Regions from separate parts of the Homo sapiens genome. Here all the other regions are linked to region 5. The links are contacts of gene promoters, found by promoter capture Hi-C in human tissues and cell types (Jung and others, 2019). All regions are on one chromosome and are shown on one strand. Each heading gives the region's core, a stretch centred on a gene start or on the middle of the fragment in contact. The rest is flanking DNA. Distances are from core to core; before and after follow the strand shown.

Region 1 (2,931 bases), core at 429-2,928, 590 kb after region 5:
CTATAAATAACATAATCAAAATAGACAAAAAGATGGAAAATTTCATCAAACTACTGAAATCCATTAACATCATCAGAAAATGCAGAGTTTAATAATACAACACTGAAATTAAAAATTCACTTGGATGGCAATTCAGTTGGATTTAAAAGCACATTAGATATAGCAGAAGAAAAAATTAGTGATCTGGAATGTATATCAGTAGAAAATATTCAGGTTGATACTTTTCAGAGAAATGGAAAGAATAAACAACACAGAAAAAGAGCTTAAGAGGCATATGAAACATGATGAAAATAACTTTCATAAGTGTAGTTGTAGTCTATAAAGGAGAGAGATAATTGAACAGAAGAGACATTGTGAGAATTTTCCAAAACAAGCAAAAGATATTAGTAAACTGAAATTCTACAAATTCTGAGCAAAATAAATACAGATAAAGCTAACCCACAAACACTAAAAAGAGTATCTTATAAAGAGACAGAAAACAGACACATGATGTTCAGAGAGATACAATATCTATGGCTGAGTTTTCAATAGAAACAGTGAACAAAAATGTCTTTAAAGAGCTAAAAGAAAATTGTTGCCAACCTAGAATTGTGTACACAAGGAAAATAGCTTTCAAAAATAAAGGCTAAGCAGACAGTTTCAAATGAGCACTTAACAAGCAGGGACAACAACAACAATGGCACAAGGAAAATGACCCTAGATGAAAACATGTTATTGCAAGTAAAGACAGGCTAGAGGGAATTTTGTAGTCTTAAACGCATAAACTAGAAATGAAAAAAAAAAACTTACCATCTCTAACACAGGTATTCACATCAAGTTAGCAAAACTGCAAATTAACCCAAGAGAAAGAAGGAGGTAGGTAGGAGAAAAATAGAAATAAAAACAAAAATTATTGAAATAGAAAGGAATCATCTAATAGAAAAAAAGGCAACAAATCTTTGAAAATACTATTAAAATTAATAAATATTTAGCAAGGACTAATCAAGAAAAAAGAGAATGAGACACATATGACTAATACTAAAAACAAGAAAGAGGCTATCACTACAGATTCTGGAAATATTTAAAAAGAAGTTAATACAAACAAACTTATGATCCTAAACTTGACTAAATTTACTGGCTACATTTATGACTGTCACTTTGCAGAACTGTTGGACAATATAGACTAAGGCTAAACATAAGCGATTCCATAACCCAGCAATTTCTTTTCTAGGCAACTCAACGGAAATGTATGCATATATTCACTAAGATATGTAAAAATACGTTCTAGCATCAATATTTCTTTTTTTAACTTTCATTTTAGGTTCAAGGGTACATGTGCAGGTTTGTTATATAGGTAAACTTGTGTCACAGGCATTTGTTGTACAGATTATTTCATCACCCAGGTGCTAAGCTTAGTACTGAATAGTTATGTCTTCTGATCCCTCCCTCCTTCCACCCTCCACCCTCAAGCAGGCCCCAGTGTGTGCTGTTCCCCTCTTTGTGTTCTCATCATTTATAAGTGAGAAGATGCAGTATTGGTTTTCTGTTCCTGTGTTAGTTTGCTAAGGATAATGGCCTCCATCTCCATCCATGTTCCTGCAAAGGACACGATCTTATTCTTTTTTATGGTTGCATAGTATTCCATGGTGCATATATACCACATTTTCTTTATCCAATCTGCCATTGATGGCCATTTAGGTTGATTCCTTGCCTTTGCTATTGTGAATAGCGCTGCAATGAACATATGCGTGCATGTGTCTTTACGGTAGAACGATTTATGTTCCTTTGGTTACATACCCAGTAAGGGGATTGCTGGGTTGAATGGTAGTTCTGTTTGTAGCTGTTTGAGGAATCGCCACACTGCTTTCCACAATGGTTGAACTAATTTACACTTCTGCCAATAGTGTACAAGCATTCCCTTTTCTCTACAACCTTACCAGCATCTGTTATTTTTTTACTTTTTAATAATAGCCTTTATGACTGGTATGAGATGGTATCTCATTGTGGTTTGATTTAGCAGCAATATTTCTAATAGCCTTAAAAATACCCAAATTTCTTATTAAAACAGAATATATACATGAATTAGGGTGTATTATTAAAAATTAATACTATTGTCAGCAATGCAAAAAACAAACTATGCCACGTGTAATAATTAGGATGAATTTCAGAGATGTCTTATCTCACAGACATCCAAGAGAATATATTGCATGATTCCATTTGTATAAATTTCAAAAATAGACAAATATAATCTTTGGTGTAGAAGTCAGAATTAATGTTTTCTATGGGCAAAGGTGGGTAGTGGGCAGTGGAGAGGTAATAACTTACCAAGGGTATGAAATAGACTTTTGGGATGCTGATAATATACAGTGTTGATCTGGATGTAACTACATGAGATTTTCACTTTTCCAAAAGTTAAGCAAACTGTACACCTATGATCCGTGTACTTATATAAAAAAGCAAAGTGACTAGAATAGCTAAAATAATTTTGAAAAAGAAGATCAAAGTTGGAGTACTCACACTAACCTATTTTAAGACTTACTCTAAAGTGACAATCATCAAGACAGTGTTGTATTGGTGAAGAGCTAGACACATAAATCAATGGGCAACAATAGAAAGCCTAGAAATAGATCCACACAAATATGGCCGATTGACTTTAGACAAAGGTGCAAAGACAATTCATTAAAGAAAGCATAGTAGCTTTCATCAAATGATGCTGAAACAGTTGGAATCCACATGTTAGAAAATGAACCTTGACCTGTACCTCACGATTTAAACAAAAATTTAGATCATAGATCTAAATATAAAATATAAAACTATAGAACTTCCAAAAGAAAATCCTAGTAACCCTTGGGCTATGCAAACTTATTAAATAAGACACCAAAAGCACAACCTATTTTTAAAAAGAGACAAACATGGCTTTATCAAATACAAAAATGCTTGCTCTGTAAAAAA
Region 2 (2,891 bases), core at 194-2,693, 550 kb after region 5:
TATGAGGCTTTCTGACTGTTAAGTGAAACCCACCATCTTATTTTCTAATCCTTTCTGCCAAAATTTAAATTACCAGCCTCCTGTGTTCTCTTTTTTGTAATTCTCTTTTAGAGGCCTTATCTCAATTTGTAGGTGTTCATTATAATATATATTTATTTATCTGCATGTTTTACATCTGGGGCCACTGACTAGTCGGTAAGTAACGAGAGGTCATAAGACTTTCTGTTTTGTTCACCACTGTATCTCCAGTACCTGAACAGTGTGTGCACTCTGCAACTATTTAATAAAAACTTATTGTTGAATTTAGTTGCAATCAGGATGAATGCCCCTTTTGACCTTCCTTATCTAAGTAGGTGGTTTATTCCATGGTACCCTTCCAGCATGGCATATTCAACCCCTTCCCATGGTCTGCAGGCCTATTCCTGGTCCATTATGAAACTTACCTTTTCAATCCTCATTTATACAATACTGTTTTGAAAATTTTGACTTCAGCACAAAAAGGTAATTATTTTACAGCACAAATCATAATGAAACGTGTTCCTTATCAGAAAAGGAAGAGATCAGAAAGAGGATTGTTTTCAATCACCATAGTAACTTCCTACCTTCCCAAATACAGCCCAAGAGAAGGGCCCAGAACATTCCTTGAATGGTGTTCTAGGCTCACTGAGCTTGGATGGTGGATGGAAAGCAGTGAGGATGTTCCCAAATCTAAGTCCTCTCAGTAAAAAGGTACAGCCTGCAGACAGCCTTTCCCACTGAAATCTTCTGACCAACACGAATGAGGACTCTCCTGCTCCTCTCTGCCTGAAGCTAGGACTTGTTTGTGTGTGTCTTTGGTGTCTGAAAAATTGATCCTTCACTTTGGGTCACATATCCTAGCACATGGTTCCCATGGAAATTCATGTCTCCTGGAGTCACATGAATTTCTTCAAGCGCCCTGGAGTCATCTGTCATCTTCTCAACCCCCCCTTTCCTTTTTTACTGGGCTCAATGTGCTCAACTTCACCCTGACTGAACAGTCCTGGACTCTTAAAACTAGTAACATTCCTTGGCTGCCTGGGCACTAACATCACATAAGCTCCAACCCAATGCTCCCCAAACCAAGACCAGGCCTCCTAGGCTAAGAGAAACTAACCACTTATCATGCCTTAAGAGTGTTTCTGATTTTGATGGGTAAAGAGAATATTTTCAATATGACAGCTGTGTTCCTCTTTTCTGAGTACACTATTTGAGACTAACATGCATACTTGTGGCTCTTTGATGTAAAATTGTCTACATTTTTAAGTGTCATTCAATCCTTTTCATTTCCTTATTGCATATATACTCCAACCTTTTTAAGTTTCTTAAACAAATTCTAAGGAGAATTCCTTCCTCAGACTAGTGGGTGGCCAAGCTGATTTCTGATTCAGTTGGCCCATGGTGGAGACCAGGCATCAGAACTGTTTTAAAACCATCCAGGTGATTCTAGTTCTCCAGGTGATTCGAATGGGGATGAGATCCATTGATCTGGAGAAGGACATCTCAAACTTTAAGGTGTTTAGGAATCACCTGGAACATTATTAAACTGAAGATTCAGTAGCTCATGGATGGATCTTGAGATTCCGCATCTTTAATAGTAGATATTATTCTGTCATGTAATAAAAAAATTATTCAAAATAATATAATTATTATTGTCTAAAAATCACATAATTATTATTATCCCAGAATTCCCAATCTTTGGAGAACACTTCAAGTAAGAAGGTTATTTAAATGATGTAAGGCTATTTAAATATGAAGTTGTTTTTTAACTTTGTAAAGTAAAATTAAATGAAAGTGAAAAAATTTAAATTTTCAGTCCTGCTAGCTACATTTCAAGTGCCCTGTGGCTACTGTCTTGAACAGGGCAGGGACAGAAACATTTCCAGCACAGAGAGTTCTACTGGGCAGTGCCATGCTGGATTCTTCATTCCCTGTATTTCAACTTGCAAGAAACTACATTCACCAAACCTGCAGGTAATGCATTTCTGCAGTACCCATGGGGGTTAATGACACATACATTTTGTCTGCATTTTTGCTTTGGACTCTTAAAGATGGAACACACACCAGAAACCTTTGATCTCAGGACCGGTTTTTAGCCAAATAATTAATGTATAGTATTATTGGTTTTGTTGCTGCTGTTTAGTTAAAGCAAACTTTATTGAAGATTGAGTTGAGTTCATGCATGCTCTCTGGTTATTTTGAAACTTCTTTTTAGGAAGGACTTGCCAGTTTCTCTTGCCAATCTATTTTACTGGCATTACCTGAAAAACAACTGTGTCATAGTATTTGTTTACCTTCTCTCCACTCAGGTCTAGCCACCTACTTCCCCCTTCCTTTAATTCATTCAACAACGTCAATGTAGAGTACTCCGAGTCCAGCACTCTGTGGCTGCTATGGGAGTTAAGGAAGAAATAGCAAATGGCACTTCCCCCTCACCGAGTTTATAATTGAATAGAGGACCTGTGATGAGACAAGCAAAACTCAAAATCTCATTAAGTTGCTAGCAGAGGCTAGCGAGTGGTAACACATTAAAACATTAAAACAGATTAGTTTCTCATATTAGCCAGCTATCACTGAGCAAAGGGCAGGCTCCAATAAAATGGTACACGGGAGAGGTAGGATTTAATGGAGGGGTAGGGGAGGCCAAGGTAAAGGCAGGCAGGGGCTAAGATATGGAAGGACTGCAGTGGGAGTAGGGTACAGCTCTATGGAGGAAAGGACTTGGGGAAGGCAGGCAGAGTCTGACGGACAGAGAGAGCACAGCAGGGTAAGAGGCATGAAAGAGGAACTGTGCAGCAAAATAGGGGGTCCATGGAAGTGGCTGACAAAATTCTTGTTTCCCATCTTGATTGTGCCTTCATCAGGGCAACTGT
Region 3 (2,974 bases), core at 369-2,868, 610 kb after region 5:
CTCCCTGGTGATGAGAGAGGTCTTGGGAGTAGCACTCTTCCCCATAGAGAGACAATGTTACTCATGGAAATTTTCTTTATAAATATAAATTTCCTTTAAAAAAGGGGTGGGGGGAAATCTTTATTTTTAGACAGGAGGAGGCAAAGAACTTTTCCTGGGTCTGCAGGTTCCCAATTGTCTTTAACTCAAAATAATCCTTATACCAAAGTGGCACATTTCAAGATGGCATATTCTGGTACCGTTCATCCCTAAAACCACCAGCATGGTCAGGCTGGTGCCCAGAGAGAACCTTCTGAGGGGAAAGTTTTGTGGTTTTCTCAAAGGCACACATAATGCTGGCCCTTGAAAAGCAAACCTGCAAAACAGAGGTAAACATGGAGGATGACCAGGGTCGGGGAAGGAGACTACTGTACGGGGTGAGAGTACAGGGGAAAATAATGCCAAGCCATGCAGGAAAAAGTGGGAAATACCTGCAGGAGACTGGCGGCTTTGGCTTCTCCCTAATCTGCCAGGGTTCTCCAGGGACAGCTTGTTACAGGAGGAATTTCCCAAATGACATCAGCCCTATCTGACACAGAGAAGGCTTGGAGCAGACACCTGAAGGAGAGGCATTCAGTTGATTGACTCAATAACTGAGTTGTGGAGGTGAAGCTGATCGAGAAGAGTTCAAGGGGAGCCAAGAAGAAGTGATACAATGGAAACCAGAAAGGAAAAGCGCAGTGGTCAAGGACAGATAGGAAAGTCAAAAATAAGGTGCACCCTAAAAAGATCTTAGAAAACTGCCTTCTGATATTTCGACTGTAAAAACGACTGGGCACATATAAGAGCAGAGATAGGCAAACTCACCTTAAGGAAACAGACTTGCATCAGGTTAGCACAAGTGAGTCAATATATTAATATAGCTACAGAAATCGTGTGTAAAACAAAGAGAGGTTGTTTGGCAAGAGAAATTTTGTAAGTGTTAAGTTGCTTGAGCGAGGAATGCAAGCATTTGAAGAACAAATCAGTACATCAAGAACTAAGAGACCCAGACCCAAGTTAACCTGCTCCTTTAAGGAGAAGGAGCGAATGAATTATTCTTCACTTGTAAGATGTGAGCAAGTCTGGCATCCCTCAGGCCTCCAGGAATCCCAATTACCTGCTCTGCACTAGATCACAAGCCTGGAGCTCCTACAAGTTGCCATGAAGAGGACTTGAACCTACAGTTGTGGTGACCGCTACTCTCCCCAAGGTCTCTTCTTGCTCTCCAGGTGGAAAAGCGCATGCTCAGGTCTTGCTTCTCATCTCAATTTTCATTAGTGGAGAAAATTTTAAATGATGATCATAATTCAGTGATAGCCATTTCAAACTCTTTCACTGCTAGAGAATGCTAGAATATCTTAAAGCAGGAGGTAAGAGCTGGCTTTCACCTCTCCATCAGAAAACCAAGCAGTTAACATCATTATCATTTGACGAACCATTACCACCACTGCCACGTGATAGTGGAAATTTAAACTGACACTTCTCACTTGCTTCATTAGTAAACCATGTAAGCACTTAATAATGATAATCTGTATTTTATTTTTGCCTTGGTCCTAGAATTCTTCTCATCCTCTGTGCTTTCCAGCAGGAAGTAGATGCAGTCCCTGGTACACTTGTAAGTTTCACAACCAAACCTATTTAAACACAGATGTGCTAGTGGATTGATTTCCTTCTCTTTTCTGGTACAAAATAAAGTAACAGAAGGGGAAGGAGAGAAAGGAACTGATAAAATATCCAATTCAACCCAGAGAAGCACACTGTCTAAAGAGGCAGCTTTGTTCTGCCAATGGCCCATATCTCAAGCAGATACTCCAGAACAGAATAAATTTCTCTAACTCAAACTTCCAACATGTGGCATATATACCTTTATCATCCTACCAGATTCCAATAAGCTTCACTCTTAGGATGTCAGTTCTGTTCCAGGAAAATGTTACCACAGTTAGGTGAAGAAGAAAAGCACTATCTTTGATCCTTTGCTAAGTTACTGAGACCCGACGCATAGACAGTACCAAAGATGACCAGGCACACAACCGCCCTGAATGGAGACAGTTGTGGAGCCTCTGTGGATACAATACAAATAACCAACAATACAGGTTACTGATTTCATAAAGCCAATACCTGCCAATCCTAGTATTACGTACATGACAGATCAATGGGTTATCACACTGGATCATGAAGATGAAGTAGAGTTTATTTAGAAGGAATAAGAACAGGTAATGGGCATCTCTTCCACGTTGAGTAGCAGCATGTTATTTGAGCCACCTCTCCTTCTCTACCCACCTGCTTTCTCCTCCAGCTCCAGGGCTAGGTCTTGTTGGCATAAGCCAATTAGCACCCAACACTCCCTAGACATCCAATTTAGCAATTAGTTGAGATATAGAACTTAAATTAATTCAACAAAGAAATGCCTGGGGTTTATTTTCATGGTTTTGAGACATCTCTTCCCACCCCCCAGCCCCCACCCCCACACACACACAAAAAAGCTCACTTGTGTTTTCTCTCTCTCTCTGTCTCTTCATGGATAATGAGTTACATTGCCACACCAATGGCATTGGCACCTATTCTGTGACTATGAAGGGATCCAGTCCTAATATGAAGCTGATAATGTAAAAGGTGGAACAGAGAGAAGGAAAGAGACTGGGTCCTGGTTTATGCTTTTGGACCATTGAAGACACCCTGAAGATACCCTACTTACAGACTATGCAAATACGGGAGCCAAAAATTGTGTTTTATTGTTTAACCCAGTGGGAATGGGGGTTTCTGTCCCTTAGAACCAAAAGCATCCTGGCTGACACTCAGAAGACAAGTCAGAACACAACTCACTTGGGCCCAGCAGGAGAGGGGATCCCTCTCTTGATCCCCTTTAATGTCGGCTACATCTTTGCAGAGACAAAGACACAAGAAGGAGGGGATGGAACGTCATAAGAGCCACCTGCCCATCAGCTCCTCTTCA
Region 4 (2,737 bases), core at 85-2,584, 780 kb after region 5:
GGAGTTCAAGACCAGCCTGGCCAACATGGCAAAATCCCATCTCTACTAAAAATACAAAATTAGCCAGGCATGGTGGTGCATGCCTGTAATCCTAGCTACTCAGGAGGCTGAGGCAGGAGAATCGCTTGAAACCTGGAGGCAGAGGTTGCAGTGAGCCGAGATCACACCATTGCACTCCAGCCTAGGCGACAGAGAGAGACTCTGTCTCAAAAAAGAAAGAAAGAAAGAAACAAAGATAGGTGGCCTCGAGGACCCTGGTCTGGTCTTAGGTGATAATGTCCCCATATATTAACCACATATTTTCTGTATTCGGATGACTTGACATCTGGGGTCTTGCTGACTTTGGAGAGACTGCCTCTCCCAGGATTAGCCAGTTCCTAGAGAGAGTAAACAACCCTCCTGAGAGCTGCTTTTCAAATACAAACCAATCCAGAGCCAAAGCCCCCACCACCTCTTCTACCAGCTCTCACACTCTGGGCCACTACCCCCTGCCTTAATCACCCCACAGCCAGGTACCAGACAACTAGGGACAGTACCTATGACCCAGAGCCCATTGAAATTCTTCAAGCTACCCTAAAATTATCCAAAATCTGCTTAACCTCTCTTGCCCATTCCTTCCACAGAAACCACAATAAGGGCTCTGTGAACAGCTCCTCCCTCTCCATCTATCTCCTGACACACCCTGGTCCTTCCCCATGTGCCCCCACCTCCGACCCCACTTCCCACCAGCATGGTGTGCCCCCTCTTCTTAGGAACTGGTAGTAAATATGTATATATTTAGACATGATCTGTCACCCAGGCAGAAGTGTGGTGGCGTGATCATAGCTCACTGTAACCTCAAAGTCTTAGGCCCAAGCAATGCTCCTCACTCAGCTTCCCAAGTGGCTGGGACTACAGGCACACACCACCACACCTGGCTAATTTTTTTTTTCTTTTTTACTTTTTATAGAAACAGGGTCCCATTATATTGCCCAGACTGGTCTTGAACCCCTGGCTTCATATGATCCTCCTGCTGTGGCCTCCAAAAGTGCTGGGTTTGCAGGCATGAGCCACCATGCCTGGCCTAAGGCACTCTATTTTAAAACACCCCAGTCTGGCAGAATCTCACTCCTTGGGAGACAGAAAAAGGAGACACTATGTAAAGCAGACCCAGAGTGGGCAGAGTGGGGCTGTACACGAGAACGGAGGCCATGTTGTGGCCTAACAAGGATCTCCTCTGGCTTGAGATCAAGTGGGAAAGTCTCTCTTATACTCCTGAAAGAAGCACAAGAGTGCATGAGTCATGGCCCCTCTCTTCCCCAACCCAGCCCCCAGCCAGGTCGACTCACTGATACCCTTAGGCCAAGAAACAGAGCTGGGTTCTCACTCCACTGTCTCCACTGCAGGGGATGGGAAAGGAAGCTCCAGGCCCAGAATGAGGGCCTGAGTCATGGGCTTACAGCACTGTTCCTTCCCTACAAGCTGCACTCAGACACGCAACACTATTGATATCACAGACATTATTTTAACAATAGCTTCTAAGACAATTAAGTCAGTGAACATCTGTGCCTGAGGAACCCTAGGCAGGGTGTGTAAGTGGGTGGGACAGAGGTGACTGAACATATCAACACTATTAAAAGAGGTAAGAATTAGCAGAGGCACTTAGAGTGATTTCCAAGTGTTGTTAAAGGTGATCAAAGCCTTTTCTTCCTCAATAAGACCTTTACTGTGCTGTGAGTTATCACGATTAAGCAGTGGGTAGCAAATAAAATGCCCTGGCTCTTTGCAAAGTGAAGCAAGGAAATTGTGAAACTGGGTTTCAACAAGCAAGGTTTTCAAACTCCTCCCAGCAAAGTTATCGGAACCCTAGATTCTGAGGCAGTGTGAGTATGGAGACGCGCACACTCCACTGTGTCCACTCTAAAGAGTTGAGGCGGAAATGGGAAATGCCAGGACAGGGCATCTGAGCCAAGGCCTGCAAGGCACAGATGGGTGCAATGAGGCCCAAGAGGTAATGAGATGTGGTTGAGGCCACACAGGTGGGGAGAGGCAGAGTCACGCCGGACACTTGTAGGGTGGCCTGTTTCCAGGTCAGTGGGCATTTTTGAGTGGGGGCACATGTAACCTTGGAGTTCCTTCCGCTACTCACCCCACTTATTGGGCTGCCATTCCCAGGAGACAGCGCAAGCATGCCAGGCTCTTTGCATTTGACCTTCATGATGTGAACAGGCAGCCCTCTCCCAGGAAGTCCAGGTGAGGTGGCTGATTCTGCTGGCTACCATAGCACTCAACTGGTGACATGGCCTTTCTCTCTCCTCGTCTACAGTGGCTGGCTGCAGCTGCACGGAGAGCCCAGATTTTCACTTAGTTATCTTTGTATTCTCAGTGCCCAATATCATATCTGGTACTTATTTCACAAATACTGGATGAATGCATGACAGCAGGGGAAGGAGACAGAGAGGAAGAAAGGAGTGAGGAGGAGGGACGGAGGGACGGAAGGAAGCTCTGTCCCAGGCATCTTGCCTGCCATCTTCCCCCACCCAAACTCACTTTCCCACTCCCTCAAGTCCCCTCTCTCTGCTTTATGATGTGCCATTCAAATTATCTGACAAACCAATTTTTACTAAGGAATAGTGAATTAGAATGGCAAATTAACCTCTCAGCAAACTTTAAACAGAAATATATATAGGCCATATATATCTAAATAAAAATCCATATATATATTAAACATTAAAGATTAAACATTTAATCTTTGCTA
Region 5 (2,939 bases), core at 281-2,780:
TTTTCCCTTTCTGAATGATTTCTGTGAAAATGAATGTATAAGGTTATGTATAAAATCTAGAATCCTTAATGTACCAACACAGATTCTGCAACAAAAGTTGCTTTATTTCACAGTCATGCAAAGTTAAATTTGACTACAACTATGATTTCACTTTAGGAATTACTGCAGATGGATTGAAAACTCATTTAATTATAATGAAGATATTGAAAAAAAACATACTGTATTTGCAGCTATCCACATGAGGGTCCAGGCAGTTTACAGGTTAGACTGGAAAAAATACAACTTCCTTAAAGCTTTGATGTCTTTGCATGGTGGCTTAATAGATAGCTGTACCTTAATTTTACAGAACGGAGAATTTTTAAAATCTGATTAAGAACAATAGTATTTGTACAAAATTCTGCCTGTTTTGTGTAATTAACCGTATTCTGAATCTCTTAATTTCCACCAAGACTTGTGAATCTAAGCTCTACTTGGTAGCCCTCTCAGGCATTTATAACTTGACAAGCGTGTCCAATCAATAAATAGCAACAACAATAATAATACTAAAACATCCTTTCCCTTAAGATAAGGTAAAAGAAGGAAACAGGTGATGGTTTCTTGTTTTGCGATGGGAGCAGGTGAAAAGTTAGAAAACAAAACTGCGAAAAGAAACAAAAATTCCCACCGACCTGCAGACATTTCAATTTATTTTAGAAACTATTTTCTTGTACACATATTCTTAAGTGCATATTTCCTTACCTCTTGCTTAAAGAAAAAATCAACAGAAAGCTTTATTTTCTGGACAAAGATCTATGTCAATTTGAGAATGTTAAAAAAGTGAACTCAAAGCTGTCTCTTTTGAATCACATTATGACATTCGTCAGCATCAATGACTTTCTCTAAACGAGAAAATAAAAAAAAAGTCCAAATAACTTGCCTTTATAAAGATTCCAAGTAAGAGAGACTTGGCAGGTCTGCGGTTGCCATAAAAAAGATTTCCCGAGTCCGGGCAACAACAGCAGACACACTTTTTTAAAGTCCGACAATGCAAAAGCCAAGCAATGAATTTCCCCCCTCCTTTCTTTTTCTTTTTCTTTTTCTTTTTTTTTTTTTTTTTTTTTGCCCCCTCAAGAACAAATTGTTGCCTCCTTTTACATCCATCCTACCAGAAGGGGGACCTTTCCACTTTCAGATGCTCCTCTGCTTTAATTTCTGAAGAGGAAAAAAAGCGAGCAGAAGAGCCCCGAGATCCGCCGTGGAGCTCTAATAACGCAGCTGCGGCGGCGGCGACGGCGGCGGCGCGGGGTGTGCGAGCGGCCGGGCGGGCGGCGCGAGGGGCGGCGGCGCAGGAGCGGGCGGGGCGCGCGGCGCGTGGGAGGCGGCGGCGGCGGCGGCGGCGGCGGGCGGGGCTCGGGGCGCTCGGCCGCCGCCTGGCTCCGGATCCGCGCGCCGCGGCCGGCGCCTCCAGTCCGGGTCTTGGCGGGCCCCCTCCTCCCTCCCGCTCCCCGCGCTCTCGCCTTTTAATCATGCCCCTCTGTCTGTGTGTGAGTGCAGGCAGGCTGACAATGATTTCCTCAGTGATTACGTACAGAGCGAGTCCCTGCGGGTTAGGGGCCCCCTCTGGAGCCATCCTGATGGCTTTGGGGGCCTTGCTTCCATTTTCCATTATTATGTGGACTACCGGAGCGACAGCGCAGTCCAAGACCTTGCAGGTTTGTGATGAGGAGGGAGCACACAGCACACTCCTTCTCCTCCTCCTGCTCCCGGCTCTCCTCCTCCTCCTCCTCCTGCTCTCGCCGCCGCTGCCGCCGCCGCTGCCGCCGCTGCTGCCGCCGCCGCTGCCGAGGCAGCCGTAGACTTTAGAGCCCCGGTCCAGCGCCAGCCGCCGGCGCCGCGCCCCCGCCCAGAGAGGGGCGCCCCGAGCCCGGGCCCCGCACACCCCCTGCACACAAGCAGCCCCGCACACCACCTGGGGGCCGTCGGCTCGGGTGCTTTGGCTTTTTCTTTTTGAAAGAAATTACTTTAGTGTGGGTTAAGAAAAAAAGGGTGGGGGGAAGGGAGAAAAAAAGTATTTTTTTCCCTTTGCTTATTTTCGTGGCCCGTTCGCATCTGCCTCGGATGGTGGGAGATTTTTCTTTCCAAGACCTTTTCATCGCCTTGCAGGGTCGATTTCCCCCCCTCGTCCCCCCAACTACAAAAGAGCACGACTCGCTTTGTAAACAAATCAGTGTTATTTGTTTTTTTCCGGTGGGGGGGGGGGCGGATTTGTTGAAAAGGAAAAGCGGTAAAGAAAAAAAAAATCACCCAGACGCTTTTCTTTTTATTAGTTTTTTTCTATTCGCATGAACTATGTGAATTTTGATTGAGGTGGAAATAGTAACGGATTTTCTCTTTTTAGTGTAGCTGACGGCTCTTCAAACATTGTCTTTGGGGTTTTTTTTTTAGCTTTTTTTCCCTCCTTTCCTTTTTTCTTTTTCCTTTTTTTTTTTTTTTCTTGGAGATTGGGGGTGGGGGTCGAAGGCTGGGAAAGTTTGGTGCAGCAGCCGCCGCCGCCGCCGCCGCCGTCGTGCAGAGCGCGGAGCTCGGGCAGCCGCGAGCCCCGCGCGCGAGCGCGAGCCGGAGCCGGAGCGAGGAGCGGAGCGCGGAGCGAGGGCGCGAGGGAGGCCGAGCGGAGGGCGCGAGGCGCCGCGGCCCGAGGGGCGCGCGGCCACGAGGAAGTATAGTTTCTTTCAGGGCTGAATTGAAACAACTTCAGCTGTTTGCTTTTAGGATGTCTCGCCGCAAGCAAGCGAAACCGAGATCCCTCAAAGGTAAGGAGGAACCCCCTGCTCCCCGCTTTCCCCCATCCGCGAGTGTCACTGTGGGTAGCGGAGCGAGGGCTGCGTGGCTGCGAGGCGTGTGCGCGCGTGAGTGTGAGTGTGAGTGCGGGGGCGCGCGCGCTCCCCTCCCCGCTGAGCCCC
Region 6 (3,129 bases), core at 155-2,654, 530 kb before region 5:
TCCCTTTGAATAAAATTTCTACCCCAATTTCTCTCATTTCTCTCTTTACTTCCTCTGTAAGGCAATAACTCTTAGATTTGCCTTTTTGAGTCTATTTTCTAGATCTTATAGGCATGCTTTATTCTTTCTTATTCTTTTTTTCCTTTGTCTTCTTTGACTGTGTATTTTCAAATCACCTGTCTTCAAACTCACTAATTCCTCCTTCTGCTTAATCTATTATGCTGTTAAGAGATTCTGATGCATTCTTCAATATGTCAATTGCATTTTTTAGCTCCAGAATTTCTGTTTGATTCTTTTCAATTATTTATATCTCTTTGTTAAATGTATCTGATAGGATTCTGACTTCCTTCTCTATGTTATCTTGGATTTCATTGAACTTCCTTAAAACAGCTATTTTGAATTCTCTGTCTGAAAGGTCACATATGTACCTCTGTCTTTCCAGGATTGACCACTAGTGCTTTATTTAGTTTGTTTGATGAGATCATGTTTTCCTGCATAGTCCTGATGCTTGTGGGTATTTGTTGGTGCCTAGGCATTGAAGAGTTAGGTATTTATTGTAGTTTTCACAGTCTGGGCTTGTTTGTACCTGTTCTTCTTGGGAAGGCCAGATATTCCAAGAGACTTGGGTGTTGTGATCTAAGTTTTTGGTCACTGAAGCTGTATTTGCTTTAGGGGGCAACCAAAACCCAGTAATGCTGTGACTCTTGCAGACTCATAGAGGTACTGTCTTGGTTGTCTTGGGTAATATCAGGGAGAATTCCCTGGATTACCAGGCAGAGACTCTTGTTCTGTTCCTTTACTTTCCCCCAACAGAGTCTCTCTCTCTTTCTGTGCTGAGCTGCCTGGAGCTGAGGGTGGGGTGACACAAGAACCCTTGTGGCCACCACCACTGGGACTGCATTGGGTCAGGCCTGAAGCCAGCACAGCACTGGCTCTCACCCAAGGCCCACAGTGACTACTGCCTGGCTACTGCCAATGTTCACTCAAGGCCCTAGGGCTCTACAATCAGCAGGTGGCAAATGCAGCCAGCCTTGTGTTTTTCCCTTCAGGGTAATGAGTTCCCCTCACCCCCAGGTGGGTCTGTAGATGCCATCCAGGAGCCAGGGCCTGGAGTTGGGAACCTTTGGAATCAACCTGCTACTCTATTCTACTACAGCTGAACTGGCATCCAAGCTGGATGACTAAGTTATTCCCACTCTTCCATCCTCTTTCCTAAAGCAGAAGAGTCTCTCCCCATACCCATCACTAACCCAGGCCCACAGTAAATACTGCCTGGCTACCACCAATGTCCACTCAAGGCCCAAGGCTCTTCAGTAAGCTTGTGGTGAATGCTGCCAGTCTTGAGTTTCTCCTTTAAGGGCAGTGGGCTCCCCTTTGGCTCAGGGCAGGTCCAGAAATGCCATCCAGGGGCCAAGGCCTGGATTCGAGGACCCCAGGAGCCCACTTGCTCCTCTACCCCACTGCAGCTGAGCTGGAACCCAAGCTATAAGACAAAGGCCCCTTGACCCTTCCCTCTTCTTTATTCAAGATGAAGGGTTCTTTCTCCATGGCCACCACAGCTGAGAATGTGCTGGGTCATACCTGAAGCCAGCATAGCTCTGAGTCCCACCCAAGGCCCATGGCAAGTACTCCTGGCTACCACTGGTCATTATTCAGGGCCCAAAGACTTTTTGGTCAGCAGGTAGTGAATTCTGCCAGGACTGAGTTGTTTCCTTCAAGGCAGTGGGCTTGCTTCTGGCCCAGGGCATGTTTGGAAATGTCATCTGAGAGCTAGGGCCTGGAATGAAGGAAGGCCTCATGACTCTGCCTGGTGCTCTATTCTTCTGTGGCTGAGCTGGTATCCAAGTTGCAAGGCAAAGTCCTCTTCACTCTCTCCTCTCCTCAAGCAGAGGGAAGGAGTCTTTTTTGGAGCTGCAAGCTGTGCTGGCTGGGACTGGGGAAGGGGCGACACAAACACTCTTTTGCCTCACTAGGCTGATGTCTCACTATAGCACCAGGACTTGCCCTGGAATTTCAGTCCTTGTGGACTTGACTGCCTTTCAAGTTTATTTAGAACCCCAGAGCACTTTAGCTCATGGTGGCAGGACTTGCCAGAACTCAGTTTCTGACTGGTGGGATGAGTAATCCCCCTCTGGTGAGGGCTGGTCTGTATGCTCTCTCCATGGTTGCTGGCTGAGCTCTGCCCCGTGTTTCTTTCCGCTGTGATGGGGCAGAACTGAGTTCCAATCCAAAGACCCACAATCACTGTGCTCTCCCTCCCTCAACCACGCAGATTGTCTGCACAATGCCGCTGCTGCTGGGGGCTGGGGAGGGGTGGTGTAGGCAATTCAAGACTGCCTTACCTACCCTTTCCTTCATATGATATTGAAACCAGGTACTGTGATCACTCACCTGAAATTTGGTTCTTATAAAGGTGCTTTTTTTGTGTGTGGAAAGTTGTTTAATTTGGCGTTCCTGCAGGGGAGCTGATTGCTGGAGGTTTCTATTTGGCCATCTTGCTCTGCTTCCCTTCAGTGGGTAAGATTTTTGAAGATGGACTTTTATAAGCATGTAAAGGTGCACTGAACAAAAACAAAATGCCACTTTTTGCTTTAATTTTCCCCCCTACTCTTCCCCCCCTATTCTTTGGCACAGGGTAAAAAAAATGGTTGAACAGAGTAGTTTTTTTAAAAAAAGGCAGAAGAAAGAAAAATAACCCTGTAAAATTGAAGTTTGCATTGTATTCACATTTTTCTTTTCTTTTTTGCTGAAATAGATATTGATGTTGCTTATACTTACTCAAGTTTGGGACTCCAAAAATTTCAGGGGAAAGTTGTTTAATTTCATTTATGGGCTGAGGTTTTTGTTTTTATTTTTGAAAGACACCAGGATTGAAGGAGCTTTGAATTCATGCACAAGCAAAAACCAATCATGCTGAACAATTACCTGTAAATAGATTTTACTTGACTCACAGTAGGCTAACAATTGTTTACCAAAGGCTTGCCCATTAGGATATTTGGGGGTTGTTGGCAGGACTAACACCAGGCAAAATTGCCAGGTAGGACGTGCTTTCTAGGGAGGCAGTACTACATAGAAAAAAAGCAGGGGCTTTGGAAAGCAGCTGTTCAGGAAACCGAGTTTAGTTCTAGC
Region 7 (2,755 bases), core at 48-2,547, 520 kb before region 5:
GAACCTGGGAGGTAGAAGTTGCAGTGAGTCGAGATGGTGCCACTGCATTTCAGCCTGGGCGACAGAGCGAGACTCTGTCAAAAAAAAAAAAAAAAAAAAATCCTTAAGAATCACTGGAATTTCAAAGACAGACTTTTCCCAAGTCATACTATCTGAAACACTACTGTTGATCATTCCAAAACACAACGGTTATGAGACCCATTTTACAGGTAGAGAAAATAAGAGAAAAAAAAAAAAAACTGATTCACTTCAGGCTACCCAAGTTAGTTATAGTGATAATTGTTTTTCAGATTTAGTAACCCAAATTTGCTTCTCCACATGACCTTAGTTTATTATATAACAAAATATTTCATTCTGTTTGGTTTTACGTCTGTAAATCTTTTCAGAGTCTGTTATTGTGGAAAAATATTTTAAAAGCTTCATGTTTCTGAGAAATGCTTTGGTGTATGGTCTTTACCAGAATTTCTCATTAGTGGCTTTGCACCAGATTGATGCTTCATACAGCTCAATTATTTGAATTTTAGCCTTTTGATTTTAAATTATCAGTTATTCCTTCATTTTTGTAAGGCATAGGGAAGGATTGTGGAAACGGGTAGATTATAAGGGCTGACTCTGAAATTGCAATTGACGTTGCTTCAGTTTCTGATTTGTTCAGCCCATTATAGTTTATTTCAGAGGGTTCTGTAGAAAACAAAGAAAACACCAATATAGGGCAAAAAGAAAAAAAAAAGCAGAAAACAAACCAAAAACAAAACCACAATAAAAACAAGCAAAGAAGGCAAAAACTCAGGGAGATAAAGACAGCCTCACTAATGAGTCCCCAACTGATTAAAAGTAAATACATTTCTATTCCTAGAAAAGTGTAAGTAACATTTGTTGCCACAAACTGTTTAGCTTTAGCAAAAATAAAGAGTTGCCCTCAAATTTGTTATGGGAGGACAGCAACACTGCAGCTAATTATTTCCCAGGTGCCTCTGGCCTGAATTTAAAAATGAGCTACTAACGGCAACACAGGAAATGGGCCCATCTTTGGCCCCAGCTTGACAGATAACTCATCATTATGTTTGTCTTTAAGGGGACTCTGCATCATGGTTGGGCATTGATTACATGCATGGTACCAACTAGATTCATGGGAGTTCCACAGTATAACATGGGGTTAAGTACTTGAGCTCTAGAGTAAAGGCCATCTGGGCTTGAATCTTAATCCTGCCTGTGTGACTTTTAGCAAAATACTTGTGTCAGTTAGCTTTGGCTGTGTAACAAACTATCCCAAAATTCAGTAGCTGAAAAAAATCACGATGTATTTGTACATGATTTGATGGGTTGACAGTTCAGCTGGGTTCAACTGGGACAGCATCATTTTGCTCCACACAGTGTTGGCTGGGCTCACTCACACGTCTAGGGCCTTGGGTAGGGCCCTTCTCTATGTCTTCTCTCTTCATCTAACAGGCTAGGCTGGGTTTTTTTATATGGTGGCTGAAAGTTCTCAGCAGCAAGAGAGGGTAAGCTCCAATGAGCAAGCATCTATCAAGCCTTGACTTATGTCTCATTTGCTATTGTCCCATGAAATAAATTAATTCACATGACTAAGACCAAATTTAAGGTTTAGAAGGCTGGATGCTGTGGCTCATGCCTGTAATCCCAATGTTTTTGGAAGCTCAGGTGGGAGTATGGCTTGAGGCCAGGAGTTTGAGACCAGCTCAGACAACATAGCAAGACCCCATCTCTTTTTTTTTATTATACTTTAAGCTCTAGGGTACATGTGCACAACGTGCAGGTTTGTTACATATGTATACATGTGCCATGTTGGTGTGCTGCACCCATTAACTCATTTACATTAGGTATATCTCCTAATGCTATCCCTCCCCCCACCCCACAATGAGTTCATGTCTTTTGTAGGGACATGGATGAAGCTGGAAGACCCCATCTCTTAAAAAAAAAATCAGCCAAGCATGATGGTGTGCACCTATAGTCTTAGCTACTTGGGAGGCTGAGGTGGGAGAATCCCTTGAGGCCAGGAGTTCGAGGCTGTAGAGAGCTATGATTGCACCACTGCATTCCAGCCTGGGCAACAGAGTAAGATTCTATCTCAAAAAAAAAAAAAAAAAAAAAAAAAAAGAATCCTAGAGAAATAGATGCCACTTTTTGAATAGGCATACATATAGAGAGCTGTGAATAAATTTGGGATCACAATAATAACAATTGGCCACACTCCTTTTCTAAGCTTCCAGATTCTCACTGGTAACATTAAAATATAATAGTACCTACTCACAGGGTGCTCAGCACAGGGCTCAATCAGCATAAGTTGTAATTATATTATAGCCAATTAAGAAAGGGAGAGAGAAAGAGAAACTAGGGAGAAGGAATAGAATGGAGGAAAGGGGTTGAGATTATGTCTTGAAGGTTGGGATGGGGAGGGCTCTATGGAGAGTATGTTGTTGATGCTACTATGAAGAACTAATCATTATTTGGGTCCTGGTTACCTGTTATCACTGAACTTTGTGGTTTTTATTAGCTCATTGACAATTTAGAAACAGTTCTTTCTATAGCAGGAAAACAGATTCTCGGTAATTTTAAACGTCGAGAGTTTTTTTCATCACAGTGACTATGTTTGGATGGTGGAACCACGGGTGGATTTTCTTTTCTCTATTTTATACATTTTTAATAATGGGATCTTATAGCTTGTATAACAAAAAGCATTTAAAATAGCTCAGTTTTAGAACAAAAATTCTTTCTTATTTTTCAGTTCTTTTAG

What was found. The method cuts DNA at HindIII sites, captures the fragments that hold promoters and counts their contacts. A contact is called where the count stands out against the background at its distance.
Region 1: a contact is called between a fragment that was not itself captured here and the fragment with the promoter of ZNF521 in region 5, in 2 of the 25 tissues and cell types used here (IMR-90 fibroblasts and neural progenitor cells).
Region 2: a contact is called between a fragment that was not itself captured here and the fragment with the promoter of ZNF521 in region 5, in 4 of the 25 tissues and cell types used here (H1 embryonic stem cells, hippocampus, mesendoderm cells and 1 more).
Region 3: a fragment that was not itself captured here is called in contact with the fragment with the promoter of ZNF521 in region 5 in 1 of the 25 tissues and cell types used here (hippocampus).
Region 4: a contact is called between a fragment that was not itself captured here and the fragment with the promoter of ZNF521 in region 5, in 1 of the 25 tissues and cell types used here (mesendoderm cells).
Region 6: a fragment that was not itself captured here is called in contact with the fragment with the promoter of ZNF521 in region 5 in 1 of the 25 tissues and cell types used here (H1 embryonic stem cells).
Region 7: a contact is called between a fragment that was not itself captured here and the fragment with the promoter of ZNF521 in region 5, in 1 of the 25 tissues and cell types used here (IMR-90 fibroblasts).

The regions. Positions count from the first base shown.
Region 1 is chr18:24,759,235-24,762,165 of GRCh38, reverse strand. All of the region lies in intron 2 of LOC105372028 (a long non-coding RNA gene), which reads right to left. Among named protein-coding and RNA genes, the nearest start is that of LINC01915, 130 kb to the right of the region's middle. The HindIII fragment of the contact is 6,342 bases long and covers 1-2,931 here.
Region 2 is chr18:24,799,387-24,802,277 of GRCh38, reverse strand. LOC105372029 (a long non-coding RNA gene) reads right to left here. Exons shown (of 3, transcript XR_935298.2): 3 at 1,932-2,279. Among named protein-coding and RNA genes, the nearest start is that of LINC01915, 170 kb to the right of the region's middle. The HindIII fragment of the contact is 5,844 bases long and covers 1-2,891 here.
Region 3 is chr18:24,737,658-24,740,631 of GRCh38, reverse strand. All of the region lies in intron 2 of LOC105372028 (a long non-coding RNA gene), which reads right to left. Among named protein-coding and RNA genes, the nearest start is that of LINC01915, 110 kb to the right of the region's middle. The HindIII fragment of the contact is 3,952 bases long and covers 1-2,974 here.
Region 4 is chr18:24,566,035-24,568,771 of GRCh38, reverse strand. No RefSeq gene overlaps it. Among named protein-coding and RNA genes, the nearest start is that of LINC01915, 61 kb to the left of the region's middle. The HindIII fragment of the contact is 8,725 bases long and covers 1-2,737 here.
Region 5 is chr18:25,350,757-25,353,695 of GRCh38, reverse strand. It overlaps ZNF521 (zinc finger protein 521), which reads left to right and starts at 1,530. Exons shown (of 8, transcript NM_015461.3): 1 at 1,530-1,691; 2 at 2,749-2,789. The coding sequence starts at 2,750. RefSeq lists a silencer at 1,435-1,504. The HindIII fragment of the contact is 6,455 bases long and covers 532-2,939 here.
Region 6 is chr18:25,883,544-25,886,672 of GRCh38, reverse strand. No RefSeq gene overlaps it. Among named protein-coding and RNA genes, the nearest start is that of SS18, 210 kb to the left of the region's middle. The HindIII fragment of the contact is 5,297 bases long and covers 1-3,129 here.
Region 7 is chr18:25,866,679-25,869,433 of GRCh38, reverse strand. No RefSeq gene overlaps it. Among named protein-coding and RNA genes, the nearest start is that of SS18, 220 kb to the left of the region's middle. The HindIII fragment of the contact is 4,091 bases long and covers 1-2,755 here.